Regions from separate parts of the Homo sapiens genome. Here all the other regions are linked to region 5. The links are contacts of gene promoters, found by promoter capture Hi-C in blood cells and fetal thymus (Javierre and others, 2016). All regions are on one chromosome and are shown on one strand. The core of a region is centred on a gene start or on the middle of the fragment in contact, and the rest is flanking DNA. Distances in the headings are between cores, read along the strand shown. Region 1 has its middle 41 kb from the start of LINC02105. Region 2 has its middle 1.9 kb from the start of LINC02105. Region 3 has its middle 62 kb from the start of LINC02105. Region 4 overlaps ARL15 (ARF like GTPase 15). Region 5 holds the start of FST (follistatin). Region 6 overlaps ARL15 (ARF like GTPase 15).

Evidence for each region. The method cuts DNA at HindIII sites, captures the fragments that hold promoters and counts their contacts. A CHiCAGO score of 5 or more calls a contact.
Region 1: a fragment that was not itself captured here is called in contact with the fragment with the promoter of FST in region 5 in 2 of 17 cell types (megakaryocytes and endothelial precursors); the score reaches 9.4 in megakaryocytes.
Region 2: a contact is called between a fragment that was not itself captured here and the fragment with the promoter of FST in region 5, in 2 of 17 cell types (megakaryocytes and erythroblasts). The highest score is 6.7, in megakaryocytes.
Region 3: a contact is called between a fragment that was not itself captured here and the fragment with the promoter of FST in region 5, in 6 of 17 cell types (megakaryocytes, M2 macrophages, M0 macrophages and 3 more). The highest score is 10.8, in megakaryocytes.
Region 4: a fragment that was not itself captured here is called in contact with the fragment with the promoter of FST in region 5 in 1 of 17 cell types (endothelial precursors); the score reaches 5.2 in endothelial precursors.
Region 6: a contact is called between a fragment that was not itself captured here and the fragment with the promoter of FST in region 5, in 3 of 17 cell types (M2 macrophages, megakaryocytes and M1 macrophages). The highest score is 7.6, in M2 macrophages.

What each region holds. Positions count from the first base shown.
Region 1 is chr5:53,859,823-53,862,522 of GRCh38, forward strand. It overlaps the pseudogene ASS1P9. Among named protein-coding and RNA genes, the nearest start is that of LINC02105, 41 kb to the left of the region's middle. RefSeq lists a silencer at 1,964-2,172. The HindIII fragment of the contact is 607 bases long and covers 1,073-1,679 here.
Region 2 is chr5:53,820,186-53,822,885 of GRCh38, forward strand. No RefSeq gene overlaps it. Among named protein-coding and RNA genes, the nearest start is that of LINC02105, 1.9 kb to the left of the region's middle. The HindIII fragment of the contact is 673 bases long and covers 1,060-1,732 here.
Region 3 is chr5:53,880,597-53,883,296 of GRCh38, forward strand. No RefSeq gene overlaps it. Among named protein-coding and RNA genes, the nearest start is that of LINC02105, 62 kb to the left of the region's middle. RefSeq lists an enhancer at 1,606-2,700. The HindIII fragment of the contact is 1,176 bases long and covers 840-2,015 here.
Region 4 is chr5:53,921,023-53,923,722 of GRCh38, forward strand. All of the region lies in intron 4 of ARL15 (ARF like GTPase 15), which reads right to left. Among named protein-coding and RNA genes, the nearest start is that of MIR581, 29 kb to the right of the region's middle. The HindIII fragment of the contact is 2,420 bases long and covers 80-2,499 here.
Region 5 is chr5:53,479,186-53,481,885 of GRCh38, forward strand. FST (follistatin) reads left to right here and starts at 1,444. Exons shown (of 6, transcript NM_013409.3): 1 at 1,444-1,691. The coding sequence starts at 1,607. RefSeq lists an enhancer at 2,677-2,700. The HindIII fragment of the contact is 5,217 bases long and covers 1-2,449 here.
Region 6 is chr5:53,939,697-53,942,396 of GRCh38, forward strand. All of the region lies in intron 4 of ARL15 (ARF like GTPase 15), which reads right to left. Among named protein-coding and RNA genes, the nearest start is that of MIR581, 11 kb to the right of the region's middle. The HindIII fragment of the contact is 222 bases long and covers 1,270-1,491 here.

The sequences.
Region 1 (2,700 bases), core at 126-2,625, 380 kb after region 5:
GACATTCTCGAGATCGAGTTCAAAAAAGGAGTCCCCGTGAAGGTGACCAACGTCAAGGATGGCACCACCCACCAGACCTCATTGGAGCTCTTCATGTACCTGAACGAAGTCGTGGGCAAGCAGGGTGTGGGCTGTATTGACATCATGGAGAACCGCTTCATTGGAATGAAGTCCCGAGGGATCTACCAGGCCCCAGCAAGCACCATCCTTTACCTCGCTCATTTAGACACCAAGGCCTTCACCATGGGCCAGGAAGTGCGCAAAATCAAACAAGGCCTGGGCTTGAAATTTGTTGAGCTGGTGGATACCGGTTTCTGGTACAGCCCTGAGTGTGAATTTGTCTGCCACTGCATCGCCAAGTCCCAGGAGCAAGTGGAAGGGAAAGTGCAGGTGTCCGTCCTCGAGGGCCAGGTGTACATCCTTGGCCAGGAGTCCCCACTGTCTCTCTACAAGGAGGAGCCGGTGAGCATGAACGTGCAGGGTGATTATCAGTCAATTGATGCCACCGGGTTCATCAACATCAATTCCCTCAGGCTGAAGGAATATCATCGTCTCCAGAGCAAGGTCACTGCCAAATAGCCCCCTGTACAATGAGGAGCTGGGGCCTCCTTAATTTGCTGATCCCCCAAGTACAGGAGCTAATTGTTGTGATAATTTGTAATTGTGACTTGTTCTCCTCGGCTGGCAGCGTAGTGGGGCTGCCAGGCCCCAGCTTTGTTCTCTGGTCCCCCTGAAGCCTGCAAACGTTGTCATCAAAGGGAAGGGTGGGGGGCAGCTGTGGTGGGGAGCTATAAAATGACAATTAAAAGATTTAAAAAAAAAAACCTGTGAGTTCCTTTTATACAGTGTTTTCACCATTCTGGTAAGAACCTGAAACTCAAGTGCATTTGTGAGCTACAAAATATAAACTATGTTATTTTGGCAATTTTATATAAAAGGTAGCTTTTATATTTGCATTTAAAAATGGCCTTGTACATTATAAAAATGAATGGTAAAATTTCAAGTTTAAATTTTTCTTTACTTAGAAAGATAGTAAATTGCAAATAAAAAACACCGTGGCAAGTTGAAAACAAGCTTTTTACATAGAATAAAGGAAAAAACTTTATATTTTGGTACTTTCAGGAGTACTGGTTTTTGAATAAAGGACTGAATTTTCATTTTGCTCTGGACTCCATGAATGATGTAGTCAGCCCTAGTCAGAAGATGTTTTGCTGGGAGAATCAACAGGACTTTGTGATTCACCGTAAGAAACAATGTAGCAGTCAGGTAGTATGTTTTATGCTTCCAACACCACAGCAATAGCACATCTTGCAACAGCTTAACTGAAGCCTCTGTTTAGAGTAAATAGCACAATTTTACTATATGTTCTTTTTTTAAAATTGAGGTAAATACACATAATATAAAATTTACCCTCTTAACAATCTTTAAGTGTACATTTCAGTAATGTTAAGTATATTCACATTGTTGTGCACCCAATCTCTAAAACATTTTCATCTTGCAAAACTGAAACTCTCTACCCATTAAACAAAAACTGCCCATTTTACCACCCTTCCCATCCCCTGGCAACCACCATTCTACTTTCTATTTCTATGAGTTTGACTATTCTGGATAGCTCATATAAGTGGAATTATATAGCATGTGTCTTTTTGTGGCTTATTTCACTTAGCGTAATGTTACCAAGCTTCATCCATCTTGTAGCATGGTCCTTTTTAAAGGCTAAATGATATTCCACCATGTATATATACTACATTCTGTTTCTTCATTCATATGTCAATGCTCCCAGCTTAATAAACTCAATAAACTCACTTGTAATTACAGTCAAAACTTGCCTCAATTGCTTCTGACTTTCTACAAGAAATTTAAGGTGATTTACAGAAACTCCAATAAAATGTAGTAAGTGAAGGATTCAGGACAAATGGAAAATGTGTATAACAAAACAGTAAAGCCAGGATCCAGTGAAAATTTGGCTGAAAAGGTTTCTAAAAATCATGTATCCACAAAGTGGCTAGATTGACCTAGAGCTACTAATTCTCACCGAGGGTGTCCCAAAATATTTTTTTTTTCAGACTGAGTCTCTCTCTGTTGCCCAGCCTGGAGTACAGTGGTGCAATCTCGGCTCACTGCAAACTCCACCTCCTAAGTTCAAGGGATCCTCCTGCCTCAGCCTCCCAAGTAGCTGGGACTGCAGACGTGTGCCACCACGGCCAGCTGATTTTTGTATTTTTAATAGAGACGAGGTTTCACCATGTTGGCCAGGCTGGTCTCGAACTCTTGACCTCAGGTGATCTGCCTGCCTCAGCCTCCCAAAGTGCTGGGATTACAGGTGTGAGCCACTGCGCCCGGCCTAGTGTCCCTAATTTTTTAATGTCATTTTCCATCACATACAGAAAATGATGATAATTGCATGGCATATAGGAGTAATGAGGCTGCTCTCCACCTATGGGAGCTGGCCCCAGACTGCACCCCTATACTCTGAGGACTGAAGGAACTGGCATCTCAGGAGTATGACCTGATCCTAGCATGCCAGTGGCTGTCACTTATGGTGTGGGAAGCTATTGCAGCTTATCCCCTTGGAGGGGCCTTGCTGTCACACCGTTGTACATATTTCAATTGTCCATAAATGGCCCAAAATGTCATATTTCTATCTCCAGCAACGAAACTGTGGAGCAGTGGAAAGCACCCAGGCTTTGGAGTTCAAAA
Region 2 (2,700 bases), core at 146-2,645, 340 kb after region 5:
CTTTGCTAAATGGAACTGTGGCTGAGGGGAGGAAGGGAGGGAGGGAGACTGGTGCCCACAGAGCAGGGAGGGCTTGAGGTTCACAGTGGATACATTGCTGACATTAAGCCAAGACCCAGCTAATTGCCTATGATTGTTTTCTCTTTTCACATTTACTCATCTAAGCTGGGGATGTCTCCCAGGCACCACAGATATAATTAGAGTTGGGTTTCTGTGTCTCTCAGACTTGGGCTCCTCTTTAAAAAGTTAGCAGAAATATAGAAATCTTTGGTTTTAAAAATATTCAAATGATTTTCTAGAAGCATCCTCAAAGTCAATAGATGTAAGTTTCATAGCAACTTATTTTCTAAAAATGAAAACAGAAAGTGGAAAGTCAGTACCATGAGGGGTGCAGAAAAATGGAAGCTAAGTAACTGTTCTATATAATTAATTGCATAAGGTATGGCTGTTTTCATTACCAAGTAGCCCTGAAGCCCCTTTAAGCTAATTAATGCAGCTAGAAGCAGTCAGGGATGTAGTAAGGGAAGTGAGATCTGCCTGATCCATTGCTATAAACAGGCCCTGTATTAGGACTTACGTATTTGTTTTCTTTTATTCCTCTGAACAAAAATACTTAAACTGTAAGTGGGGACTTTTCACAGCACAAAACTTGCATCATATGTTTAAAAGCTGTGGCAAAGTCATCTTTCGGCAGAAGTTGTGTAGCCTTAAACAAATCATGCCCTGGTGTGCGTCCTTCAGTAGAGGGATGGTTCTCAGGTTTACCATATGGTGCATGCAGTCAGTCTCATGACTCATTTTGGACTTGGCACTGGGAAGGGTTCAGAAAGGTGCAGAACATGCAAATGGCTTTGAGGATGAGTGCTCACTCCCCAGTAAGGGGATATCCCCGCCTGCATACAAATAGTCCAGGCCACTGTTTTCCAAACATAACAAACCTACAATGCTGTACCCTCTAGAAACTTCTGGATGCTCAGCAGTTCACCTCCTGGTTTAGTCCAAAACATTATGTCCAAAACATAATCTCTTTTTGAAGGACATTTAAGAAAATGCATTTTAAGCTTCACATTGGTCTCTTGATTTGTAATGACTTTCTCAAATATGTTTGAGAGGAGATGAAAGGAATTTTAAACTAGGTGGATTTCACAAAGTGAATTGGCTTCATCTGTGTACTCATGAAAACCATGAGCTTGAAAAGATCCTAAATGTCAACCAAAACACCACTGCAGATATGGAAGATCCACTGCAGATATGGAAACCCACATGGGCATACAACCTATTCTGGAACAGGCCTGAAATAGCTCAACTTCACGGAGTGCTTCAAAGCACTGCTGCAATTTTCTAAAAGTCTTTTGGTTAAGTAACAATGCTAAAGAAAAATAGAATTTTCCATGAACAGAAAAATAATGTTCAAGTTTATATCAGAGCAGGAATCAGCTTTTCTTTTCTGTGAATAACATTTGGGCCTGAAGCCAATAAATGTACCATTTGCATCCTGGTTTACATACACACACACACACACACACACACACACACACACACACACACACACACGGGGGAGGGTTTCTTACCCTGAGTATGAATCCCACTGGCTTGTCTTCAGAATGCAAACTGTAGGTCTAAGAAGTCATATGGTTTAATTTCAAGAACCTACTCAGGATTTGTCCGGGATGTAATGTACATGTTTCCCTAATCCTGTTTGGTTTTGCTAATATATATAATGATATCTTTAAGCTTGTGCCTAAGCTATGCCCACCACTGGGGGTCCAGTGAACAGCTAGGGCAGCCTAACCAAGCCAACGTGCGTAAGAACTGTGGACCCTATAGGATGAGTGAAGGGATCAAGGATCAGGAAGAGTTTGCCTCAGTCAGAAAAATCCTAGTTGTAGAATGGGAAGGAGGAATGTTGGACCACATACTGCTTTTATTTTATGACATTCCCCAACTGGACTCAGGTCTCACTTCTGGAGAAAATTGGCTGATGGTTAAACACTGAAAGAGCTCTATGTGGTGGGCATTTGTTGCTTTGTTTGCCTGGAACAGCACTGTCCTCTTTTTAGTAGGATTCTGATGGGGCTGCCAACCATAGTTCCTAATGCTTTGGCCACAGTGAATGGTCCAGTGATGGGCATACGACCGAACCATAGTCAATAGGCTCTTTCCTAAGATATTCCCTTTAAGAGCCCTCTGAGTTTTGTGGTTCTGAAGCTTTGAGGATGTAGGCCTAGGACTGGTGTTAGTGTTGAAGCTTCCAGCTTCATAGGGGCAAGTCTAAGGGAATAAGTTTAACACAGAGAAACAGAGACAAAACAACAACAACAACAAAAAAAGGAAACGAAGAGAGAAGAAGTGAGTTCTCTAACACTTGAGATTCTGAATCCAGTGGTTGCTGAAACGCTCTACCCACTGCCTTTTCCCTACTTTGGTTATATCAATCAATCAATAGCCTTCCCTTTGGTTAATTTAGGTTTCTAAATTTAAAATTGGGTTTCTCTGCCCCTGTATAAAATGTTGAGAACACAAACTGTGCCATTTGGGAGCTTCTCTAACAGAGGATTCACAAAAACCTCCTTGCCTCTGACTATTGTAAAACTTATGCTTCTCTGAGAATAAAAGAGGGTGCTATTAACAATTAACAATTATATGAGGACAACGGGCATAAGCTAGAAATATATGGCCACCCTTAGTGAAGGATCAAAC
Region 3 (2,700 bases), core at 178-2,677, 400 kb after region 5:
GCATTAATGAATAAAGTCCTAAAAGTATTAAAACCGAAAGTTCCAATTGTGAAATAAAACTGTACAATGCTAAGTTGAATCTCGACTAGCTGTCATCTCAAAAACCCTGTCAAAGCTGCTTAATAAAAGTGTTGGGTTGATACACTGCATGTCTAGAAAGTTGTAAAACAACTGGAGAAGGTCCAGAGACAAACCTGACTTGCTCCAGATTACAGAGAATGACAGCTAGACTTACTGTTTGCATTCTTGTCTCTGCCTTTTGGTGAGCCGTTTCCATTCTAACAAAATCTTCTCATTTTTAATATTTATATGTCTAATGATTTAATATCATACCACATCACTCTGGCCTTCAAGGTGCCCTGGACACACATTTTTCTGATTTACCTTTACACAGATTATACGCAAACTGGCCAGAAATCATTCATTTCAACATGAACCTCTCAGGTAAGAATTGTGGTCTTACTTCTCTCTCCAGAAACAGCTTTCTTCACAGACTCTGTTTAAAACCAGCTCCCGGCCGGGCGCGGTGGCTCACGCCTGTAATCCCAGCACTTTGGGAGGCCGAGGCGGGCGGATCACGAGGTCAGGAGATCGAGACCATCCCGGCTAAAACGGTGAAACCCCGTCTCTACTAAAAATACAAAAAATTAGCCGGGCGTAGTGGCGGGCGCCTGTAGTCCCAGCTACTTGGGAGGCTGAGGCAGGAGAATGGCGTGAACCCGGGAGGCGGAGCTTGCAGTGAGCCGAGATCCCGCCACTGCACTCCAGCCTGGGCGACAGAGCGAGACTCCGTCTCAAAAAAAAAAAAAAACCAGCTCCCTCCACCACCATCTTCTGTAAGCTTGTCCAGACATGGGGTACATCATTAGGCCAGGTCTTCCAGTCATTCCCTTGCTTGCAAAGCAATCATTTATAGGCGTTTGGTGCTTTGTCTGACATCTGTTTGATGCTGGAACTCTAGCCTTTGTCTCAATGAATCACTTGTCGGTGAAAGTCCATTGTAGGCTGGATTTCACACTTTCAGGAGGGGTTTGCCTGTGATGGAAGTGATCTTAGGCTTTTTGAAATAACCAGCTCCCTCCGCCTCCCTATATTCCATGAAGAAACAGGAAAATGAGAGAGTCTGGGGAACCTGGTGCTTATTCAAGCCTCATTTTGATTTGTTCCCTTGGGCCTGAGCCAGGTTAGCATCTCTGGGGACTACATTGCCAACTCACCTCCATGGTTGAAATGTTGCTGCTAGAAGAAAACTAGGCTGAAACATTTATGTAGGATTCTTTGAGATCATCAGATAAAAGGAAGAGATTTTTGAAAAAGAAGGAAGGAAAAAGGGAATTCACCATTATCTAGTAGTTAGCAGAAGATCGTTTTTTAAAAGTGTGGTGGAATGGCTGTACCCACGTTGGTCTATGTCTAGCTGGAGCAGTGGGGATAAGGAGTTGGACTGGATTATAAACCTGGCTGAGCCTAGCAAGGCATTACATCTAGAAACCACTTTCTTTATTCTCCCAACAGGGTACAAGTGACTTACAAGGCATATATGGTAAGTGAAGTTTCTTTGAAAGCCACCAGGCCCACACTATTCCCTTGTAGAAAGTGATTATTCATCTAGAATGCCCTGTGGAAATTCCTGTGTGCAGTCAGGACTTGAGAAGTACAGCAAGAAAGGGAAGGGGCAGGCTAAGCCTAAGAACCCTGTAGTTGGCCTTTCTAAACCAGGAGCCAGTGAATACAATATGCTTTGCAGAGCAGAGATGGCATGTGAGATGAGATTATAGAGAAAAATCTGATAGAGAAATCATGGGCTTTGAATTTCTCTTTGTTTCATAAGGAAAGGAAGATGCTAGACAGGGCGTATTGGAGAGATTCTTCTTTGTGACTTTTAACTTCTTTGCTTGGTTTCACAGTAAGTCACATTATGGAGAAGTTGTTACAAACAGATGAAACCCCAGGAAGGGAAGTCAGAATTTCCAGATCTGATGAGACAGTGGGTGGAAGAAAAGTTTGTCATTTAAAGCTTTAATTCAAAGAGAATAGGAAAGGGGAGGAGAAACTGACATCCCATCTGAGGCTTCTAAGGGATCCTTTTCATGTTCCTAAATTAGTACAAGGGGGTGTGGGGTAGGGTGCCAAACCTTGGGCTCATCAGTCACTTCATGCATCTGAGTTGAAAAACATTTAACCCTGAGATGCACATAATTTAAACATGCTGATTCACTGGTGACCAAATGCTGTGAGCCCTTGGGAGCCAGGAATTCCCAACATGATGTGGTAATGCATTTTACAGCATGAACTTCAGATCTCCAGGACCCAGGCTGGGGAACAAGACAGGGACTCTACATTCTAAAGTTTCTGCATAACAAACACAGACCCTCCCTTCCAAATGCATTGAAAATGAGGGATCCCAAAGGGCAACTCCCACTTCCAGCCCCACCACCCTACATACCTTTTCATTTCTGTTTGCGCCATTAGGTCAGGAGGTTAATGAAAATGCACTCTAAAGTTATAAAGAGGATGAAGCCAGGCACGAATATTAGATTTCCATTCAAGTCTGAATATGCAATATGGACATGAAGAAAACCCCATTTGCTTCAAAATCTTACAGTTCTGTTCACATTTACTTGGATAGGACTGAGATGCTTAGGAAGTTGATAACTGCTAATTGCCTACACTAGAAATAAACCTAGGAATGAAGGTTAG
Region 4 (2,700 bases), core at 40-2,539, 440 kb after region 5:
TAACTACAAGGAGCAGAGTGCCCCCACTGACCATATTGCACTGTGAGGTGACCTACAGTGGCAAGACATCGAGAATGTAAGCTTTATAGCAACTGTATTACTCTAATACAGAAACATTTCATCACTTAATTCTCATTACGGCTCTGTCAGGTAATGTATTATCACCTGCATTTAACTCATATAGGAACAGAGGCTCAGAGAGGTAAGTCACTTGTTCAAGAGCAAGCAGCTAACAGGTGAAGAAACTGACATTCTGCCCTTGGTCAGTGAAACTTTAGGACCCATGTTCTTACCTATGGGTATACTGTCCCCCCTATAGCTATTGTAAGTATGTAAGTACAAAAACCTATGTGTTAGACATTTCCCCTTTTAACCTTGAACTTATGTTCCAGTAATAGAAACATTTTATTTTCCCATTAATTATGTGGAGAATAGTAAAAATTAACATGAACTAATTTTTGCAGATGATTTCACTCAGGGAGTGACAGAATAATGCGTATAAAACACTAAAAGCACAAGGCAGGTGGATCACTTGAGGTCAGGAGTTCAAGACCAGCCTGGCCAACATGGCAAAACCTGTCTCTACTAAAAATACAAAACTTAGCTGGGTGTGGTGGAGTGCGCCAGTAGTCCCAGCTACTTGGGAGGCTGAGGTGGGAGGATTACTTGAACCCAGGAGGCGGATGTTGCAGTGAGCCGAGATTGTGCCACTGCACTCCAGCCTGGGTGACAGAGAGAGACCCTGTCTCAAAACAAAACAAAACAAAAAATCATTAAAAGCAGACTGCTCTGACTAAAGCAAGGCTGGGGTTACCAGGAATGAGCAGTTTGACAATCACTATGTGCCATCATATTGATTCTCAACACTGAGCTATTCAGATTTCTTTCCCTTTTAAAACAAAAAATGTCTAATTCAGTTCTAGAATTCAGTTTTGCAGACATACCAGAGCTATGCACTGAAAGTTAATGTACACCTTGAAAGCAATATGTACCTTAGTGACAAGGTATATCCATCAATATCTGCTCATCAAACTACTTCCTGTTTTACTTAACTTGTAGTGTAGCACCATGTGTTTTGTCAGTTAATTACTGACCCTCAGCTGGCAGCCACTTGGTAATGAAAAGACTGTCTTCTGGTATGCCTTAGTTTGTGTTTCTGGTATGGCCATCTCAGCTTCCATTCTCTCCTTTAAGTCTGAAGTCTACATTCAGTTCCGTTTAGTTCAATTAACATTCACTGTTCCCTTGCCTGTGTTTAGTAACGAGGATACAAACAAGATTCAGGCCTGGTCTCTGCCCTAGGACCAGGAGAAGAATCCAATAGTTCACCGTAAAAGGATCACTGTACCAGTTCATTTAGTCTTTGAATGTCTTCTTATTTTTTAAATGACAATGACTGTATCAGCTTTGAGGCATCATTCTTGAATGTCCCCTAACTTTCTGTGTAGATAATGTTTAGTACAAGAGGAACATTTAAGATATTAAAGATGGAGTATGTCATGGACACTAACCAACCAGAATGAACGTTGGTGGCAGTGCTGTAGTGCAGTTCTAGAGGCTCTCTACCAAGCCAGGAATTACTGCTTTGGTTGTGAAATTGTGGAGCAGCCCAAGAGGTCCCAGCGGGGAGGAAACAGGTGGCATTCAAATGGATAGGCCAGTACGTCAATATTTTAACAAGTGGTACATCTGTAGTGATGTATTGATGGAATATTGCTTGACTTGTGAACAACAGCTCCATAGGAAAAGGACAGCCACTTTTCCATCTGTGCTGACAACTGAGCTGTGTAGATCCTGAACCAGAAACACAAGAGAAAAACAATCTGAAAACTGTCTATTCCCCTGGGGACTTTCACTTTCCTTTATGAGCATTTCAAGTAGAGCAGCACTCCATAAATGCTGCTGACTGACTGACATTTATTGAATAACCAGTGTATACAGAGCATGTTCTGAGAAACTTATACAGAAAACAGAAGTGACCTATACACGCTTTCATTTATTTTGATGATTAATTTTTAAAAAGTGGCCTTTCTGAGGCAAGTCTATAATCTACACCCTAAAGAAGTCTTCTCAAGTGACAGGGAACTTCAAACTCAGGGCAAGCAAGTTTTGGAGAATGACTGCCTCTTCACGATTCGGGCTCTGGTCTTCAATGGCTGCCATTGGTAAGGGTGAGTCAGGATGGAACTCCTGAAACTCAAAACAAACAAACAATCACCTCCCACACCAGAAACAAAGTCCTTTTGCCTCTCCAACTTGAAACACAAGTTTGTATTTGTGGTCTGATTTTTGCTAAGATCATAAAACTTTACATCTGCATAAAATATGACGCAGTTGCTTCAGAAGGGCAGGCTGTTCCCTGTCCCCACCCCACTGCCTCCTTGTCGGTGAAGGGCTACTTGGTAAAATGATCTTTGAGTTCTAGAGATGAATTATACATCCTGTATAATTGCTGGATGTTGTCAGATGCACAAATATAATAGGTTGTCAAATGCACAAAGCTTTCTCAAATAAGCATGATTTACCTAAAGGCATCTCCTTTACTAGTAACCTAAACTGATTCTTTTCAACCTAAATGAAATTCTTTCGGTTCTGGTATATTCTTGAGCATGTCAAAATAAAAATCTCATAATATTTAAAAAACTTATCAAGTTTTATTTTTTAAACAATACATTTTTAAAAACCTGATTATATTAGCCA
Region 5 (2,700 bases), core at 194-2,693:
GTGGGAGGGCTAGAGGAGGACTGGGGGAGGGTCTGGCGGGGGGAGGGCAGTTGCAGGGGGGGAAGAAGGGCAGATTTGAAATTCGTAGAACAAATCCCAGTGACCTGCGAATGTCCAAGAATTTTGTCTGCATACTTCGCTATCTGTTGTCCTTCGGGCTTCAGATGCGAAAAGAACAAATTTAAAAGGCAGCTTTGGAATAAACAATATAGCATTTTCCGTGAAGTAATCGTTTTATATAAAAGGAAATATCGCCTCCTCAGTTTCATTCAGCGGTGCCAAAAATGTTATAAATGAGAGACCCGCCAACTTTCAGCGAAGAATGCCAGGCACTGTACTTAATAAACTGAGGCTACAGAAGTTCATTATGGATGTTGCAATCTTTTTTATTCCGCGAAAAGAGAGAAGACGAGACAGAAAGAGAGAGAGATTGGAGCCGAGGAGACTGAGAGACAGACAGAGGCACACAGGACAGAAACTGGGGAGTCTCCAGGCGGGAGAGGAAGGGGGGGCCAGACCGCCTACGTCGGCGCCCCCGCTCCGGGCTCCGACTCCAGACGCCGCGAAGTGAAAGGGGAGAAAAGAAAGGGAGAGGGCGAGGCTGTGCCGCGGGGAGACCGGGCCTGAGGTGTTAAACATTTTTGTTTGCTTCCGACTAGTCCAGACGAAGGGCCGCGTCTCGGTAGCGCTCTGCCAGGGTGGAAGGTGCCGGGGCCGGGGTTCCTAGCAACACCTCTGGGCTGGGGGTGGCTGCAAAGTCAGGCACTCACAGACCCAGACACAAAACCTCGCGGGTCCCGCGCCCAGGCTGCGGGTGCCCGGAACCGCCGCGAGGCCGGCGCGCTCCGACCCGACCCGGGGCGGGATATTTGGGCAGCCCGGGGCTCTTCGGCCGTTTGCAAAAGTCTCTTTGGAGCGGAGGAGAGGCAGCACGGAGACAAACTCCCGGGTTCCCCCCGCCACCGCCTCCAGCGCCCCCACCGCGCCCTCCCTCTCACACTCGCGCGCGCGCGCACACACACTCACACACACACTCACACACACACCCGCCACCCCGGGCGCGCCGGCGCTGCCGGCGAGCGGCGGCGAGCAGGACTTGAAGTGGGTGTTCTTCCCCACTCCCCACCCCCGACGCGTAGCCCCCAACCCCCGCCCCGGTCGCCTTCCCCCTCCCTCTCGCTCCTACGCAAATAAGAACTCGACGATTCCCTTCCAGCCGTTTTGATTTCGGGCACCTCCGAAAGATAATTGGGAAGGGTTTCCAGAAGGTGGGAAATGTCACCTGATTCACACTGAACTTTTGAAAGCTCCCCACCCCCAAGGAGCCGCGCACACCCTCGCTCGCGGCCGCCCTCCCACAGCCCCACACACTGGGAGACCGCCCACCGCAAACCGCGGAGACCCCCGTCTAGATTTAAAGCGCGGCTGCGCCCGGCTTCTGACGTCCATTGAATCGCGCGGGCGGCCGGCGGCGAGCGCGGGGCTGCGCCGGGATCGCTGCGCCCTCCGCCGCTGGCCTCTGCGACGCGCGCCGCTCGCCCGAGCCACCCGCCGCCGCGCCGGCTCCCCGCGCCGCTGCGCTCCTCGCCCCGCGCCTGCCCCCAGGATGGTCCGCGCGAGGCACCAGCCGGGTGGGCTTTGCCTCCTGCTGCTGCTGCTCTGCCAGTTCATGGAGGACCGCAGTGCCCAGGGTAAGCGAGTGGGGATGCGCTGGGGAGGCTTGGCTGAGGACAGGGGGGTCGACTTTTCTGTGGTCTCCACTTGGTCTGTTCTGAGCAACGCTGCTCTCGGAAGATGTTGAACCAACTTGGGGACTCCGGGATGGAGAGGAGTGGGAAAATTGTAGGCAATGACACTTTAGGACTGGGAACTGAGTTTGGAGCTCGGTTATCTTGAAAAAGGAAAGGGAGCGAGCTGGGGTCTTAGTAGTTAGGGTTAAATGCTCCAAGTTCTGGCCATGATAACTTTAGATGTGATCTCCTCTGTTTGGCTCTGAAGAAGGGAACAAGTATCAGTAGTAGCCTGGAGATTTCAGTCGACCCATTTGCAGTCTCATCTCTCTCCCTCCCACATCTTTTGGATACTTAAAAAAAAAAAAGGAAAGAAAGAAAAGAAAACCTGGGGGTTTGGGGGAGAGATACTGAATTTTATTTGGTGGCTGGGGGACGTGGTTTCAGAAACTTTGCCCAAACTTGGAAATGTGGGTGCTGAAGATTTTCAAGGGAAGTAGCTTTCTGCCTAGTGGATGCTTCTTCCAACCCCATCCCCCATTCTCGCAAAAAAAAAAAAAAAAAAAAAAAAGCCAAATTATTACCCCAAAGTGCTTTGAGCACTTTACAGTTTTTTTCCCCTCTGCCTCATTCTTCTTTCTGACCCTTAGCTTTCTGTAAAACAGTGAGCAGCCCATAACTGACTTAAATTCTGAAATGGGTTAAGAGCAAATTTCTGAAGCTTGCCTTTTAAAAATAGATTTGTTTATTTCAATTAGTCTTTGGGCAGAATGTTTAAAATAATAATAGCAGCTTGCGATCCAATGATTGTTAAAGTCATATTGGTGATTCATGAGAAGTCTTCTCGACCCAAATCCGAACATTAAAAAGGGGGAAGAGGGAGAAATCACTTGCAAATATTTCTTGCTAGGTATGAGATAGGTACTTATAACCGTGAAATGGTAGGAAGACTCCCCCCTCCCCCCACCTT
Region 6 (2,700 bases), core at 131-2,630, 460 kb after region 5:
TGCACTCCAGCCTGGAGATAAAGCGAGACTCCGTCTCAAAAAAAAATAAAATAAAATAAAGAAAGAAAGAAAAAGAAAGTTAGCTGCTACATCACTCACTATTCCAATGTTCCTTACATTTGAAATCTGTAGATTAATAATCATAAAAGAATAAAATTAAACACTGATTCAAACAAATATGAACAGACGTTTGTAACTTAGGTGTTATCCAGAAAAAACAACAACAACAACAACAACAACAACAAACAACTTTGATTTTTGCTTGAAAATAAAGTCCTGAACTTTTTTTTTTTTTTTTTTGAGACGGAGCCTCGCTCTGTCGCCCAGGCTGGAGTGCAGAGGCGCGATCTCGGCTCACTGCAAGCTCCGCCTCCCTGGTTCACGCCATTCTCCTGCCTCAGCCTCCCGAGTAGCTGGGACTACAGGTGCCTGCCACGGCTAATTTTTCTGGTATTTTTAGTAGAGACGGGGTTTCACCGTGTTAGCCAGGATGGTCTTGATCTCCTGACCCCGTCATCCGCCCACCTTGGCCTCCCAAAGTGCTGGGATTACAGGCGTGAACCACCGCGCCCGGCAGTCCTGAAGTTTTAAAACTAGACCAACCAGTGCTATGATACTGCTTAATTCCCATAGGCATGTAGCAAATTTGTATTTTCTTCATTTGCTGAAAGAAAAAAGAAAAACACCATAACCTTTTGTCTCTACCTTTGAGCAATTTAATAAAATTAAACTTTGAAAGAGATTAAGAGTAGTAATCAAAGTTCCAAATATAGCTAAGAAAAAGCTAACTACTCTGGTGGAAGTTACGTATATTTGAAGCATTTTTCCTCAATATAACATGGAATTAATAGGAATTCACTCATTATGCATGTTCTAGTATAACCTTAAATGCCCACAGGTTATTCCTAATTTTCTGGAGAAATAAAAGTCACATGGCATTTTTCTATGCTTAAACAGAGAACAATTATGGATTTTTTAAGAAGGGAGAGAAGGAAACATGCATACTTCACTTATGCCCATAACTTCTAGAGCTTTTATGTTTCATATGAAAAACAGAAAATACATTTCTAATGTGTCATCAATTCTTTTGAACTTCTAATAATTTGAATGTACATTTTATAGCAAATAGCTTAATGATCACATCATGCAGCTGACTTAATTCTCAAAATGTCTTTGTAGTTTTATTATTCTGTAAAAGCAAACTGTTTCACCAAAAATTGTACTAGGTCAAGCTTTTACAAGAAAAATATTTATTATATTGTCCATTAAAGCTTACCAATTAATTACCAAGTTTAGTCAATGGGGTTCCTTTGAACTGCCTGTGAGATGAGTATTTTATTACTTATTATTATAATAATGAGTAGATTTGAAAGATTTTTACCTTACAAAATATCAATGGTTTATTTCACAATGTTATTTGTTAAACCAAAGCATTAGTCATTCTCTTCTTCTACTTTTCTCCTTCTTCCCCTTTCCCTTTACTTCTGTATAAGCTTTTTTAATATTTAAGATATGAAGAAATCCAACATTATACATCATTAAACCATGGCCAAATTCACAATAAAATGTGCCTGCAATCCTTTAAAAAAAGGATTATGTATACAGAACTACGTGGAAAACTTGCTGTTCTCAGAAAAGAACAGAATGAAACAGATAATAAATAAATTTCTATATCCAAGGTAGATCTTTCTTTTTACAGGAGGTCGGGTAAGTTCATACAGAAAAACTCTACAGAATGGGCCTGTCGTTAAAAATAAACGAAGCAAGGATTATTGGGTTTAGATCATTTTCTTAAGAATCAAAAAAGTTTTTCTAGGGCTTTGGCTAAGTACATGAAGATAAATGATGCCCAATTCTGGTTTTGCCAAATAACACAAGTCTTTTCAGAAACTACAAATTCCAGTGGCTCTGGCAGAATGAATATCAACCTAGGTCAGTTCTCCATAACCAGAACCCACAAATTTGCCAGTCCACTTCACATCTCAACTATTAGATAATAGCAGGCAAGATGCATGTTCCTGGTGGGCACAGTTGTTTATGTGGTGATTCTTCTTTGAGTTGTTGGTGTTTTCTCGCTTTCTTCCCTCCCTTCCTCCCTTTCCTCCCCTCCCCTCCACCTAATAGAGGGCCCACCTCTCTACAGGGTGCTCACCTCTAACTGTCTCCAGCAGTAGAAAAGGAAGTCAGAAAGCTAAGCAAGGCCTGGGTCAGGAGAGCTATTTATTTTCATGATGAGAAACCACCGCAGGGCTCTGGGAAGGGAAGTGGCACAGTCTGATTTATCTATTTAAAAAATCCATGTAAAGAGTATGGGGCGGGCAGGGGCAAGAATGGAAGCAGAGATGCCAGGTAGGAAGCAATTACAAGAATCCAGAGAGGAATGGTTGCAGGTTGCTTGGACTAGGGTGGTAATACTGTAGGTTCAGGATATATTTTGAAGATAAAGGCAACTGGTCTTGCTCATGTGGGCACTGAGAGAAACTGGGGCCAGGGAACTAGGTAAATTGTGGGGTGGGTGGGGAAGAGAGGGAAGGATGCTACTTTGACTGAGATGGAAAACAATGGGGGAGAAGTTGGGTTTGAGTTGTGTGGGGGCTTCAGGAATCTTTTGACCTTAAATGTAAGATGGCATCAGACATACCAGTGGCACTAGAAGCTGTGGAAGCACAGGAATAATCTAGAAATCGGTTGAGAGCTTTG